Linked DNA regions of Homo sapiens: region 1 is linked to region 2. Evidence: promoter capture Hi-C in 16 types of primary human blood cells and fetal thymus (Javierre and others, 2016). All regions are on one chromosome and are shown on one strand. The core of a region is centred on a gene start or on the middle of the fragment in contact, and the rest is flanking DNA. Distances in the headings are between cores, read along the strand shown.

Region 1 (4,913 bases), core at 1,216-3,715, 340 kb after region 2:
TCCCTAACCTGAACACATCCATCCTGGGCAGTGTGACACCAGGGTGAGGTCCCTGCATGGGGAGACAGAAGACCTAGGTTCTGGTTCCAGTTCTGTCACTGGTGCAATGACAGGCTTTCTGGGCCTTGGTCCTATAAAATACAGGGCTAGACTTTGAATGCAACACAAGTATTCTGTATGGAAAGACTTAGCTGAACAAAACAGCCTATTCTTTGAAATGTAGCTTTGCTACTGTCCAGATGTGGAGGATTTTAGCAAATGAACACAACTGTTCTTTTAAGTAAGAGGTCCTACCCGCTGGGAACCACAGGGGCCAATGACTTGAACCACAGTAATGTAATAGGTATCCTAAAGATCAAAGGTGAACCCAAAAGAGTGATGTGGGAAGACCAATTACTAATTGCACTAAATAAAGGCTCTTTCGAAAAAGCCATCAAATGAAAAAAATGAAGCAGGAACTGGCTAAATTAGCAAAACGGTTAGACAACAGTTAGCCTGACACACTTCAACTTATAAGGAAAAAAAATGGACAGATAATTTTTTGCTGAAATTGTAGTCCTTGCTATTTGTGTTGTTCTAGAGTTTTATATGCCATTTCATACTTCTTCTCTATGATGTAAATACTTTTCATTGTAAAAAATGTAAATATTAACTATATTTTTTGTTTCTGTCTTTTCTAAAATGGAAGTTGATCCAAGTAATAAATTACAAATCATCTATATCTTGTTCTTTTTTTTTCTTTTTTTAGAAATTATATACCTTTACTGTCCTTCAGAAGGGAAAGAGTTTCATGATTAAAGAGAAACTTCATTCCTAACTAATGGAAGTAAGATGGTGCCATATAAGAGGAAAAGATGAAGGGTCAGGAGAGTGGGTTTTGCTCTGACTTTTTCATTAACAGATGTGGGGCCCTGACTAAGTCAGTTAACCTCTTGGAGCTTCATCTAAAACTGAAAACAGCTGCCAACATTGTTTTAAAACTCAATAAGGTAATAGATGCAACATGCTTTGAAAGTAAAAAGGTGTACTCAAAGGCATGGAATTACTAAGCCTTAATTGTCATTGTGTTCATTGGTTGAGGGATGAAAATTTTATATATAGGAAATTTGTTTAATTATTGTATTTTGCTTGAATTCTATTTTGGGACAAAACCAAATGGAAATTGAATGTCAAGTTAACTTCTACTGGTACTTCTAAAGGCCCATAATTAATAATCATAATGATCTTATGACCTTTAAGAGCACTGGGGAAGAAATAAGTTTCAATAATTTTTAACAAAATTCTTAAGTCTGAATGTTCTTGGTTTGACCAAAATTTCTTCATCAGTGCCTAACAAACATTCCATGATGAAGCCTTTTCCGGAGGCAGAAATGTAATCAAATGATGTGGAATTGGCAATCCATCCAAAGGGGGAAGGAATCCCAAGGAATGTCCCAGGCAAACTCTACTTTGGATCCAAGGAACTCACATATACAAATACATCAAACTGAGGAGTGCCTTCTTTTCCTTTGTAAATGACCAAACTGAACCAATTCAACTCAAAGGAAAGCCACAATGACTAGCAGCTTACTTCACACTTCAACAGACCAAAAGGCTTGACCGTGGATTCTTGCCATGTCAGAGTAGAAAGAAGCCTTAAAGATCATCTGCACCCCTCGCATCTTACAGATGAAAGACTGGGAATTTATGTGACTCATCCAGGGTCATTCAAAATCATGGGCCCTCCAGCTCATGAGAAAAACAGCTAGGGATAAAGAGACAATATAGTCCTTCTCAGCAGATGTGGTTCCACCTGCTCCACCTGCAGCTCAGGATGAGGGACATGGAAGGCAGGTGGAGGGGAACTTGTGCTTTCATCTCTCAGCCACTTACAGGCCCTCCATCTTCCCCTGAGACCATCAGAAATACAGGCATTGCACTGTACAGTTTGGGGATCTTGGCTGTGGATGAGGACAATTGTGTCATAAAAGTAAAAGCTTCCATCTCTCCTCCTTTTCTGAGAAGCAGGATGGGACTGAGAAGTCCCTGAAGAAGTGGGTTCCAGGTCTGAGTCTTCCATTAAGCATGATCATGAGCCCTTCCTTCTGTGAAATGCTAGCACTGAGCATTTAAAAGCACCTTCTCCACTTTCTCTTTCCTGGCTTTTCCTGTCTCACTGCCAGCCCTGAACTTCTATCAGATCCTTGATGCAGGACTGGTAAAACAGGAAGTTATCTTAGATACACAGTCCTGTGATTTCCAATTAATTAACCTGACAATTCAGAAAATGGCATTAGAAAGAACTTCAGCTGTGTTTTGTTTTAAATGACTGATGTTTAAAAGCTCTAGTTTAAAAGTCTCCAGAAAATTGATCTGGGTAACCAAATCTTGGAAAGACAGGAAAAACAAGTGGCTGAATCTTTCCACAAACAATCAGGATTTGGAAGGATTTTTGCTAAAAGATAATGTTCAGGAAAAGGTAAAATCATACTCTTAAACTGATATAAAAATGAACACATGTTAAAGATTTCATTTGACTCATATGATGAGGGAACCAGACAGATGTTTTCACCGGTCCAAAGGAAAAATCAAACAAGCACAAATTATATGCAGTAAAGGAAGGTTGAGATGAACTGCAAATGGAAACAAAGTCAATTATCACTATTGGACAGTATATAATTTATATAACTATCGGTTACCTACAAGTTAGAAAGGGCTGCAAAATAGCTCAAAGACAATGAATAGTATAGAACCTGATACCCCAGAAGGATATGCTACAGATGTGGCATCATTTTCCATTAAAGCATAGAATTTTTTTCCTACAATTGTAAAGCAATGCTCTGCCTTATTTAATACCTAGACTTATTTCACAGACATTAAAACACATCATCCTTTTCAACTCATATATTAGGCTGGTAAATGTGTAATCAGAAAAACCCCTGGGCAGATATTGATGGAGCCCTGTATTTGAGTGTTAAGCTTCTGACCTCTGAATTCTCTGAGCCGTTTTCCTCTGTCTATTCACTGTCTCCACCTCATACCCCACCCCCACTTAGCTTGGGGCTAAGAACTCTTGACATAAATACTAACTCTGCAGAGCTGATCAAAAGCAGATGTAGTGAAGGATGTTGACCCTGGATTTCATAGCAGTCATCACTGGGTGAGTAATAAATCTCTATGTTTATATGGCTAGAGTCTTTCCTCTGAATTAAAGACCACTAAACCTTCACATTTGTGGCCGCTGACTGGGAAGAACATCTTTGTCACTGGCTTCTTAATTCAATGTGCCAACAGCTAAGATGCTCTTAGAATAATAAATTGCAGTCTCCCTCCTGACCTCATACACCCCCATGCAGTCTCCCTCCTGACCTCACAGAGGCCCATCCAATGATACTTCATGCTTATCATCCACCCACTCTTTTTAATTGGGCTGGCAGAATCATAGTATCTTAGTCCTGGAGACTTGAACTATGTCTCCCTCCCCACTTTTTCAGTATTAATTAATGTGGTCATTATACTCTTGCCATTGCTAAGGATACAGTGATTTCCTTAGCATTGCTGGATCTTTTCAAGTTAAAATAATAAATCAGAATATTAATTCAAGATGTGGCTGTGACCCGAAGAAGTCATGTGGCTGTGGCACTAACAAGTTATGTGCCTTCACCAGCCCTTCATCTCCCACGGCCTCTTCTTCATAAAAGTGAAGACATTGAATTCTAAATCTTTTTTGATTCTATCACGGTTTACAGTGATAGCTGGTGACATATTGTGGCCATTGGTGTCTTTAATATATTGTGACTATAGTAGCTGTTAACAGCCTGTATGTGTGATTGGAAAACGGCAGTGTACCCTCTCGGAAGTAAGATTTTAATGTGGGAATTGGAAAGAGATTGGTTTGGATAACTCCAATCACATAGAGATCTCTTTCCTAACTCACGCCTCATTTGAGAAAGTAGTAAATTCCCAAAAACAAGCTATTAAATGGCATCTCCAAGGATTCTGAGCTTGAACAGGTCTTCAGGAGTTTAGGTACTGGATATTCCCCAAATAGATTGTTTATCTCCCTGGCTTTTGAAGAGTGAGGATGGGTTATGCCGACTTAAATACATTCTTGTTCAGCCCCTCTACCTCCACATTCTCACTGGCAACAATGGATATAAAAATACAATGTAATGGAGAGAGATTCAGCAAAAACATTGGCCTGTACTTTTCAAAAATATCAGTGTCATGAAAGACAAAGAACAATGAGGAACTGATCCAGAATAACAAAGAGTAAAGATTAAAGAGACATGGAAAATACATTCAGGGCCAGAAAAAAAATGGACAAAAAGTTCATTATAGAGCAATTGGCAACGTTTGAATATGGTGTGACATTATATAAGTGAATATTCTTGTGCTTAGAAAATGCACACTGAAATATATAAGTGAATATTCTTGTCCTTAGAAAATACATACTGAAATATATAAGTGAATATTCTTGTCCTTAGAAAATACACACCAAAGTATCTAGCTGTAAAGGAGAAAGATGTCTACAACTTGCTCTCAAATCATTCAGGAAAAAAAAAATTTAATTGAAAAAAGATAAAAAGATAAGTTGAAAAAACTGAAAAAGAAAATAAGAAAACAAATGTGGGAAATAAGACAAAGAGGGACAAATCTGGATGAAGGATATACAGGAGTTCTTTACACTGCTATAGCTATTTCTTGTGTTTGAAATTATTTACAAAAATATATTAAAAAGAAGACACTGTAGAAATAATTTCAATATTCTAAGACAAAATAATTTTGAACCTAAATTCTATATGCAATCAACTATTTAAGTATTATGACAAAATAAAAACATGTTCAGACTGCAGGACTTAGAATATTTCTTTGGCCATAAACTCTCACTGAAATTAATGCTAGAAAATGTACTTGAGCAAATAAAAAGACAT
Region 2 (4,893 bases), core at 1,324-3,823:
TGACCTCTGCTATGAACAGAAAACCAAAAGCACATTTTTATTGACCACATGTTGGGGTTAAGGCATGACCCAATGCCCAATCTTGTGCTGATGGCACTGGGGAAGGTGGGGGCACAATTGTAAAGAGGCTGCAGAGCTGAGATGAACTCAGGGGAGTCTGTTTGGTGGATGCAAAAGCCTGGAATGCAGAGCCCGGGGACCTGCCTTCATTTGAACGCTGGCTCTGTCACTGACCTTGGGCTCATCATCTACCTTGTCTCTGAGCCTCAATTTCACCTTGGTAAAAGAGGAATAATAACACCTACTCTTTCTATTTCATAATCCAAAAAAGAATGAAGTGGTCTCTGGGAAAACACTTTGGAAGTAAGGACTCTGCACATATAGGGGTTATTATTATTATTACATGAAACAATCACGTTTGTGGATGAAGGGATTTAGATTGGGTGGAGCTGGCCTTCCAGCAGATATTCAGGCCCAAGCAAAGCAGGCCTTTGGGTGATCTACTTCAGGGAAAGCAAAGAGGCCAGGTGGGCAGAGCTGAGGGAAGGAGTTGCTGACAGTGTGCTGGGGCTAGAGTTGGAGGGTTGTCAAAGCCTTGCCAATGAGTTGGGGCTTGTTGGAGCAGACAGTAGGGACCATTGCAGGTTCTTGAGCAGGAGAGACACCTGAAGAAGGTGGAGAGATAGCAAAAGTGGTATGTTGCCTCCTTAGGCTATTTTAGTTGGTAATAATAGGCTATTTCTAAGTCCAGTCAAGCACTATCACTTCCCACCCCAAAGCTGTTCTTGACTTTTCTGTAGGGACTTGCTTCTTCCTCTCGACTCTTACGGTTCTCTCCAGCTGGAGTGTATCTCTCTGGCAGCAGTTATACCAGCTCAAATCTTCCTGAAAACATCCATGATTTTCTGCCTGTATCCCCTGGTTTCCCAGCCCACAGAGGTTACCTCCCTCTTGGGGCTCCTGAGTTCCGTGACCTACTTATGGGGTTCTGTTCATGGAAGGCAGTGTTTCTCGGCCCTAGCTGCTCATTAGAAGACTGGTTTTTAAAATGTCTCCATGCACAGATTGTAACCCAGATCAACGACATTGTGATCTCTGGGGTGGAACCTAGGTATTGGGATGGTTTCTAAACATTCCAGGTAATTCCAATGTGCACATTGCGATTTGGGATCACAGGCCACCTCTGACAATCGGGCATCCTGCCTTGTGATTACTGCTTTCATGCGTGCACTTGGCATACCTGGAACACACTGGGGTGTGGGGAGAAAGCACTAGGATTTTGGTTTATATTTACTTTACATCCTATGCTTTTAAAATGTGCATGCTTTACAATCGACTTGATAGTAGAAGAGGTAATGATCATAACAGTCAGCAGCCGTTGAGCATGTACTGCAGCCAGGCTCTCATCCAAGCACTTGACACGAAAGTGCCAGAAAGCAGTCACACCAACATTCAAACACAGGATGGCTCCAGCAGCCACCTTTTATCCATCATGCCAATCTGTTCTCACAGTACACATGTGTAATTTAGAAACAAACAAAAATAGTAACATATAAATAAGATACAGATACCAGAGCGACCCGTGAAACATTTTTTGCTGATAAGGTTTCATGATCAAATAATCAGACTATGGTGGCCGACTATGAGTCCTCCAGGCCAGGTCTAAATCTCTCTCTTAGTTTTGTTCCTTCTGCCCAGCAGCTAGCAGAATCTGGGTTCTAATAAATGCTCAACAAATATCTGCCACTCCCACAAACATTTATTAAATGATAATCATAGCTAACGTTTATCAACATTGCCAATGTGCCAGAGACATCATACTTAATCTTCACAGAAGTCCTGTAAGGCTATGATTACACCTGCTTTGTGACACTGAGCAGCTAAGTAACTTGCTAGAGTCCAGAACCTGAACCCAGACTGTGGGACTGCACAGCTCATTCTCCCCCACTGGTGAGCAGGTCCACAGGGAGCAGCTTATGAAGGTGGTGGGGGAGAAGTGGATTTTAAAACATCAGGAAGGAGGCAGAGGTGGATCATTCACTCCCTGCAGGTGGTTCCTTCTGCCAAGAGTGACCTTCTCTATCCTTACCTACCCTCCTGCCCCAGCTCAAACGCATCTTCTCCTGGAAGCCTACAGAGGGTTCTGCCCCGTTCCTGCCTCATCTTCCCCACTGAACTTGGAACTCCTAGAGGGCAGGGTTGGGTCCTACTCAAGGGGCATCCACGGAGCTGGGTCAGCAAACATAACACTGGTCATCTGAGCCTGCGCCCGCCCTTCCTCCCAGGCCAGGGCGCCCCCACCCCCTGGGTTTTTCCTCCGTGGACGCCGCTTCCTTTTCCTTCTTTTCTCCCTCCTCCTTCTTCTCCTTCTTTTCCACGTGTCTTCTCCTCCCATCCTCTTTTCTCTCCATCCCCACCTCCCACTCCTTCCCACGCCCCATCTCCCCGACCCCCAGCACCCCGCGCCGCCCCCAACCCTGGGCCGGGCAGGTGCAATTCCTCAGGCGGCCTACAGAGGGCGATGTGCGCCGCCACTGGGCCGCGCCCCTCCGGCGCGCGCTTCCTGTGAGGTCAGGTGGGAGGAAACCGCCTGGAGCCGCCGGGAGTGGACGCCGCCGAGGCCCGGAGTCGCGCCTGCAGGTGAGTCGCCGCGCCGGGGAGGGAGCGCATCCCTCGCTGCAGCCCGGGCCGGGACTTGGAGCCGGTGTCGGGCTCCAGAGGCTGGGGCTGGCGGCCGGGGCAGCGTCCCTCCCGCCCCCGGCCCGGAATGTCAGGTGCGCCGCGGGCCGGGCGCGCGGGTGGCCCACCGGGCGGGGGCGCGATGACAAAGCACAAAGGGACTGCGCGCGACCACCATCCGCTCGGCCTGCGCCAGGGCCAGCGGGCTTCAGGAGGGGGACGCGCCTGTCCCGGGCTCCAGGCTACGGGCAAGACCACAGGGCTCCTGACCTTTTTCGGCATACATGTCACCAGTGCTATCTGGAATGTAGGTGGACACTGAGGCTCATCTCCTGAGAATGAATGGCCTTTACCCAGACTCAAGGGGAGGCGTGGAGGGGCCCCGCAGTCCAGGGGTCCGCGGAGTGGAGCCTTTCGAGGGCCACCGCAGCAACCCCCTCCCATATTTTGGGAAGGCTGGGCCCTGCGCCCGTTAGCCAAGGTTGGACTGGTGTTCCCTGCGAAGTGAGGGACAGGTGAGGGGCGTGCCCTCTGCAGCAAAGGTGTGCTCTTCCGAGGCGCATGATGGCTAGGATGGTCTGCCGCTACCAGGCAGTGGTTGTAAAGTAACCCCGAAGTGACCCTCATCTCCCTGGGTGTTCCTGGGGAAGGCCCAGGTGGTGACATTGACTCCCTGGGGGAGCAACACACTCGACCCATTTTTTAGTGGAAGGGAATTGGAACCCCACTGGGGATGCTGGTGCCCTGGACTCCCAGTTTAGTACCCAGGGAGGGCCCTAGAACCAGAGCTTCTGGCCTCGTGTTCCTTCTCTGCTGTCCGTAGGTGTGATCCCGGGCAGGCCACTTAAGTCTCCCTGTGCCTCCGCCTGTGCAATGGCCGCGCTAGTACCCTCCTCGGGGGAGTGTTGTGAGGCTTGAGTGAGGTGAGCCTTGCAGGATGGGCCTTCCACGGGGCGTGGGCCACAGCAGAGGCTCTAGTCCCAGTTGTGCTGTTGGCAGTGTAGTGATTGGCAGTAAAACTTCCTTTGCCAAGGATCTTTTTGATAGTTTTCCTGGTGGACTCAATGTCTGAAATCTTTTTGCCTGGCAAACAACTTGCCTTTATTTCTCCCCTTTTTGTTAATCAGACACAGCATCTACTCAGCGTGGGTCACCTCTGTGAACATCACTGACTGCAAGCCTCCCTCAATTTCTGGTAAATTTTTTCCTTCAAGCTTTTTGAGGTCAGGGGGAAAATCCTCCACAGATCTTCACGAGTCTGGTCCCAGATCACTAACAGCTAAAGGTTTTGTGGTGGGGAGAACTTCTGTGCCACTTGGCTTCCATTAGCCTGCCCACCCTGACCACACAATGCAGGTGCAGCCCATCAGGGACCCACAGCGCCTGGGAGGATGGTGCGGATCTTGGCCAATGGGGAAATCGTGCAGGATGACGACCCCCGAGTGAGGACCACTACCCAGCCACCAAGAGGTAGCATTCCTCGACAGGTAGGTACTCATTTCCTGTGGAGTGGGACAGATGGCCTCCTGTGTACTGGCTACTCCTAGCTTCCAGAAGTCTCTCTTGCTGGTCACTAACCTTTTCTAGCCTGAAGCCCTCTTTGCAGAGAGCTGGGGAAGATGCAGTGGCTTATTGTCTACCTCCCCAGATCTCCTTTCTCCAGGCGCCTCCCCAGACTTCACAGCCAAGAGCTCTCTCTCCTTTAACTTGGTTAGCAAACCTCACTGGAGCTAGCGTCTTTCTTTTAAGAGTGGGTTGGATGACAGAAGCTGGAGAGGAAGTGGAGGAGATGAGCCCTGGGCACAGAATAATCATTTTAAAGGGGTGGCTGGGCGCGGTGGCTCACACCTGTAATCCCAGCACTTTGGGAGGCTGAGGTGGGCGGATCAGGAGGCCAGGAGTTTGAGACCAGCCTGACCAACATGATGAAACCCCATCTCTACTAAAAATACAAAATTAGCCAGGTGTGGTGGTGCATGCCTGTAATCCCAGCTACTCAGGAGGCTGAGGCAGGAGAATCGCTTGAACCTGGGAGGCGGAGGTTGCAGTGAGCTGAGATCGCGCCATTGCACTCCAGCCTGGGTGACAGAGCGAGACTCCGTCTCAAAAAAAAAAAAAAAAAAAAAAAGAAAGGAGTGATGATGAGTATTAAAAATGCTGGCCCTAGAGCCATGCCCTGTAGTCCAACCTGCCTCAACCACTTCCTCTCTCCTC

The links. The method cuts DNA at HindIII sites, captures the fragments that hold promoters and counts their contacts. A CHiCAGO score of 5 or more calls a contact.
Region 1: a contact is called between a fragment that was not itself captured here and the fragment with the promoter of FAM241B in region 2, in 1 of 17 cell types (endothelial precursors). The highest score is 5.6, in endothelial precursors.

Annotation. Positions count from the first base shown.
Region 1 is chr10:69,971,645-69,976,557 of GRCh38, forward strand. No RefSeq gene overlaps it. Among named protein-coding and RNA genes, the nearest start is that of LINC02636, 35 kb to the right of the region's middle. The HindIII fragment of the contact is 982 bases long and covers 1,975-2,956 here.
Region 2 is chr10:69,627,674-69,632,566 of GRCh38, forward strand. It overlaps FAM241B (family with sequence similarity 241 member B), which reads left to right and starts at 2,574. Exons shown (of 4, transcript NM_145306.3): 1 at 2,574-2,640; 2 at 3,807-3,874; 3 at 4,036-4,166. The coding sequence starts at 4,071. RefSeq lists an enhancer at 3,117-4,002. The HindIII fragment of the contact is 17,043 bases long and covers 1-3,891 here.